2 separate regions of the Homo sapiens genome follow, and region 1 is linked to region 2. Evidence: promoter capture Hi-C in human tissues and cell types (Jung and others, 2019). All regions are on one chromosome and are shown on one strand. Each heading gives the region's core, a stretch centred on a gene start or on the middle of the fragment in contact. The rest is flanking DNA. Distances are from core to core; before and after follow the strand shown. Region 1 holds the start of FBXW12 (F-box and WD repeat domain containing 12). Region 2 holds the start of CAMP (cathelicidin antimicrobial peptide).

Region 1 (2,700 bases), core at 201-2,700, 150 kb after region 2:
CACCCCGCCACCACCACCCCCCAACACACCTTCCTGTTCCTCTATTTTTTTTGTTGTTGTTGTTGAGATGGAGTCTCGCACTGTCGCCCAGGCTGGAGTGCAGTAGCGCAATCTCAGCTCACTGCAACCTCCACCTCCCAGCTTCAAGCAATTCTCCTGCCTCAGCCTCCCAAGTAGCTGGGATTACAGGCACCCGCCACCACGCCCAGCTAATTTGTTGTATTTTTAGTAGAGACAGGGTTTCACTATGTTGGCCAAGCTGGTCTCAAACTCCTGACCTGGTGATCCACCCGCCTCGGCCTCCCCAAGTGCTGGGATTACGGGCATGAGCCACTGTGCCTGGCCTCTGTTCCTCTATTTCAAATTCATTCATTCACTCATTCGGCAATTTGCTTCAGTTTCCTTATGTTTGCCTCTTTCTCATCTGTCCTCTTTTCCATTTTATTCCTACTCTGTCTCAGTCCACTTACAGTTATATTTCCTATCTGTGTATTTTATAATATTTGTGCTTTAATACTTTTAAAATATCCTTTATTTTACTGTTTCTTCTCTTCCCTTGTCATATTTTAAAGTGTTTTATTTCTCAGCCTTCTATATCTTTGCATTAATTCTGTTCCTCTACAATAGAGTCCGTTCCAAGCTTTCTGTCTTCCTGTGTCCTTCCACGGCTCTGGCTCTCTCTGCATTATTTCCTATTTATGGAATACAAATCTTTTACCCTTGTATTTTTCTCACTCCTCTCCACACACCCCTTGACTCGCCTTTCCCCACGCCCCTCTAGGTGCTTCTTGGTCTTTGCTTTTCCTTTTTATTTCCTCACCATGTCAATTTGTATTTTTCCTCTCTCTTACTACTGTATCATAAATGGGACTCCCGACAACCACTCCCGTGTGTCTGCCTGGAGGCAGCAGTTTTAAGAAGGGTTGGCCACTGAGCCTCACAGAGGGACCCCTGTCTTATGCTGCAGCAAAGTACCATAGACTGGGTGGCTTACAAACAAATTTATTTCTCACAATTTTGGAGGAGAGAAGTCCAAGAGTCACCTGTCAGCACGGTCAGGTTCTGGTGTGGGCCTTCTTCCAGGTTGCAGCTGACACCTTCTCATGTCCTCGCATGATATGAACAGGGCTAGAGAGCGTTCTGGGGTCTCTTTTATAAGGTCACTGGTCCCATCATAAGGACTCTGCCTGTGACCCACTTACCTCCCAAAGGCCCCCCACCTCCAATCACACCAAGGGTTAGAATTTCAACGTAGGAATTTTGAGAGGACACAAACACCCAGGCTATGACACGGTCTTTAGAAAATCCCAGAATGAGTTGTCAGGTTCTTGGGAGATCTGTAACTGTGGGAAAGCGTCACATCCCAGGGAAAGCCACCAGCTGGGAGAGCCATCCCAGACAAGGCCTGCTCCCTTTGGGCGGACCTCTGTGGAGAAGCCAGCTTGGCACGTTCTTTCTCCTCCACTGCAAAGTTAAATGCGAGAAGGTAGAAACCCAGAGGCCATGCTGGCGCTGAGAGATGAGCCCCACTCACCAGATTCAAGATCCCAAGGTAGGCACAGACACAGGGCAAGCAGACTCCAATTCCAGGAGTTTGGAACTTAAATAGAGTCATAGAGACACTCAGATCTGATCAAAGTGAGTGCACTCGGTGACATTTCCTAAAGGGTTCTGACAACTTCATCTGCAACTGGGGCTGCCCCAGGTTCTGCACCTCCAGCTCACAGCGCACAGGTGTTGCTGAGCTCCTCTAAACAATGAACAGCACTAACAAGTGGGTTTAGGTAGGGATGCCTGCCAGCTGTGTGGATCAGGCCCCAGGGGAGAGGCCGGGGTGGAGGTCAGCCCGGGAGTCTGCACACCTGCAGCTTGTTTCTACCGCACACAGATGGGCATGGGTGAAAATCTTTACAAGTGCTGCAGACTTTGGCAAAGCCTATAAATTCAGAGCAGCCCGGAGAGGAGAAAGGAAAGTGGATGTGGGTTCAGGCCGCATGAAATGGAGATCCGATTGCCTGACTTAGCTTTGAAGCGAATCTTCTCTTTCCTGGACCTGTTCGGCTTGCTGCAGGTTTCCCAGGTGAACAAGGTAAAGGCCTTCCACCTCCCACTGCCCCCCAAGCCCGCTGCTTCTCTCGACCAGTTTGAGCACCACTTTGCAGAATAGCAGAGGGTTACACTGAGGCTTTGGGGGTTAGCATTCTTCATACTGAGGGCCTCATATTCTGTTAAACGAAAAGGACAAGCTGATATCCAGGAGTTGTGCTGACTAAACAGTCCTTGAGGCTCCCATTTCAAGCCCTAGGAAATCAACACTTCTTCCTGTGAATTCATGGGAATACCCAGTGCCTGTATTAGCAGTGATAGGTCTCTGTTGTTACCATTTCCTTATCTCCCCACACTGAGAGTGCTTTGAGAGCTGGAATCCCATCTGATTAACCTGTGCGGGCCCAGCTCCCAGAACAAATAATAGCAGAGGATTACCCTTGCTCTCTGATGTAACTGATTGCCTGCTTGTCTCTTCCTTTCTCTCCCATAGCATTGGAATAGGATTGCAGACAGTGATTACCTGTGGAGGTAAGGGAAGGGAAAGGGCAAGGAGGGAAGGGGAGAGGAGATCATCTGACTGCGCACCCATGCTGTGTCCCAAGGCCTGTGTGGCTGTGTTGTGAGATATACACAGGAAAGTTAGTGTGAGTA
Region 2 (2,700 bases), core at 72-2,571:
GAGTCTCGAACTCAGAGATACAGACTGGGTGGTGTCTGCCTATTATAACTGGTGTCCTGGGAGAGGGCGTCCCCAGGGAAACCCGAGGCCAGGGAAGAGAAGCAGCCCAGGAGGTGACCCCACACGCTCTCAATATTAAGAAGACAGCCCTTAGGGGAGACCAAGAAGGAGCCACCAGGGAGGCAGGAGGGACAGCAGGAGAGTGGCATCAGGGGAGACCGGGGCAGCAAGAAGGAAGGCTCACCAGTGCCTGTGCAGACAAAGACCAGGCTTGAGGGTGGCCATGGACCAAGGGTGGGTTGGCCAGCCTTCAGTGGCCTTCAGCATGAAGAAGAGTGAAAAGATGGGGTCAAGAAGCGTAGACAACCTTTCCTAAGACTTGGCTTGGGAGAAGCCATGGTGAAAGGCCATGTCTGGAGGGGCTTGGGAACATTTTGAGACTGAAAAAAACAGTGAAGAAGGATGCAGAAGGGGATAGATGGAGCAGAGCCTTCGTCTGGCTGACGGCTGGGTCCAGAGAGCATGTGGTATGGCCTTGAACTGAAAGGGCAACTTGTCCCTTGCAAGAGTGAGTCTCTAGGTTGGGGGTGGCTACTGTCTTCATTTACCAGTTCTTTTTTTTTTTTTTCATACTGAGTCTCACTCTGTTACCCAGGCTGGAGTGCAGTGGCATGATCTCAGCTAACTGCAACTTCTGCTTCCCGGGTTCAATGGGTTCAAGTGATTCTCATGCCTCAGCTTGTAGCTGGGACTACAGGTGTGAGCCATCATGCGTGGCTAATTTTCATATTTTTAGTAGAGATGGGGTTTCACCATGTTGGCCAAGCTTGTCTCGAACTCCTTATCTCAGGTGATCCGCCCACCTTGGCCTCCCAAAGTGCTGGGATTATAGGCGTGAGCCACCGTGCCCTGCCTCATTCATCAATTCTTAATCGATGCCTACAGGGTGCCAGGCAATGCCTAGAGCTGGAGATTTAGCAGTCCATCATACTGACTCCTGAGGAGTAGAAGGATGTAGAATAGGCACCTGGCTCTCTTCCTCTCTGGAGGGATTTAACGCTCTTGAGCACCCCTGGCTATGACAATCTCCGGTCAGGTCTGGGAGGTTGTCAGAGATGAAGAAACCACTTCCTCATCTTGCACACAAGGAAGGCCTCACTCACTGCCCAGCAAGTCCTGTGAAGCAATAGCCAGGGGCTAAAGCAAACCCCAGCCCACACCCTGGCAGGCAGCCAGGGATGGGTGGATCAGGAAGGCTCCTGGTTGGGCTTTTGCATCAGGCTCAGGCTGGGCATAAAGGAGGCTCCTGTGGGCTAGAGGGAGGCAGACATGGGGACCATGAAGACCCAAAGGGATGGCCACTCCCTGGGGCGGTGGTCACTGGTGCTCCTGCTGCTGGGCCTGGTGATGCCTCTGGCCATCATTGCCCAGGTCCTCAGCTACAAGGAAGCTGTGCTTCGTGCTATAGATGGCATCAACCAGCGGTCCTCGGATGCTAACCTCTACCGCCTCCTGGACCTGGACCCCAGGCCCACGATGGTGAGCTTTGGGGGACATTCTGCTCTGCTCTGGCTGGGCTTGGCCACGTGTTGTTCCTTCTGCTCCTGCTGCACTGCCTGCCAGGAGGGCATCTCCCCCTTTAAATGTGGTCCCGTGTTTTCCAGGGAACCTTCTAGAGCTCGTGTCTCCTCCCAGCTCGAGAGCTTCCTGCCTTATAATTCCTGCTGTGGCAGAGATACCCTCACCCCGACCCCACGCAGGTTTTGGGACTTCTGCGAGCTCCAGGCACTAGAATGGGGTCATTGGCTCTGGGCAGTGACCTCCTCTGCTTTAAGTCTCTTCTGTACCACGTTACCCCACATAGGGAAGAACTCTATCCAGACTTTAGGTTCCAGTGGGCATGTCTTGTCCCCCAGGAAGCCCCCTGACTTCCCTTGCCCCCACCCCAGAGTGGGAGGGGCTCCTTGTTAGAGCTCATCTGAGGTCTGCTCCTACTCACTGTTCACCTAGGAGGGTAGGAATGGCTCAGTCCTCCTCCCCTCAATGCCCCAGTGCCAAGCCCAGCACCCAGTGCCCGTCGCACATCAGGTACTGTGGAAAGCCTGCCCTCTTGGTGGGGAGGTCATGGACACAAATCAGAAAATACAAGAATGGGCCTCCCCATTTCCTCCTCTGACTAGGATGGGGACCCAGACACGCCAAAGCCTGTGAGCTTCACAGTGAAGGAGACAGTGTGCCCCAGGACGACACAGCAGTCACCAGAGGATTGTGACTTCAAGAAGGACGGGGTGAGGCTGGGGGCTGGGGGTGTTGGTGGGTGCCTCCCAAGGAGCTGAACAGGGGGCACCTGGGGAATATTTCCCACTGGGATGTGGCTGGGAGGTCATGGCAAATGGTTTCAAGTTTGACCTTGAGCTTCTCCTTTCCAGCTGGTGAAGCGGTGTATGGGGACAGTGACCCTCAACCAGGCCAGGGGCTCCTTTGACATCAGTTGTGATAAGGTGAGTGGGCTGTTCTGGGATGCAGGGGCTGATGGGGGCATAGAGTGTGGACCATCCAATGGGTCAATTAACTACTCCCCCAACCCAGGACAGAGAAAGCCCCTCCTACCCAGGGCTCTTCCCCAAACCTGAGTTCCATCTCCAGGGCCGGCTCTGGAATCCCTTAGAGCGGTAGATCTCCAAGTGTAGCCCTTCCTGG

The links. Contacts are between HindIII fragments. The study calls those that stand out against the background at their distance.
Region 1: a contact is called between the fragment with the promoter of FBXW12 here and the fragment with the promoter of CAMP in region 2, in 2 of the 25 tissues and cell types used here (IMR-90 fibroblasts and mesenchymal stem cells).

Annotation. Positions count from the first base shown.
Region 1 is chr3:48,370,769-48,373,468 of GRCh38, forward strand. It overlaps FBXW12 (F-box and WD repeat domain containing 12), which reads left to right and starts at 1,451. Exons shown (of 11, transcript NM_207102.2): 1 at 1,451-1,552; 2 at 1,916-2,089; 3 at 2,540-2,577. The coding sequence starts at 2,000. The HindIII fragment of the contact is 16,322 bases long and covers 1-2,700 here.
Region 2 is chr3:48,222,174-48,224,873 of GRCh38, forward strand. It overlaps CAMP (cathelicidin antimicrobial peptide), which reads left to right and starts at 1,322. Exons shown (of 4, transcript NM_004345.5): 1 at 1,322-1,539; 2 at 2,181-2,288; 3 at 2,430-2,501. The coding sequence starts at 1,339. RefSeq lists enhancers at 667-786, 807-936, 947-996 and a silencer at 1,006-1,300. The HindIII fragment of the contact is 5,660 bases long and covers 167-2,700 here.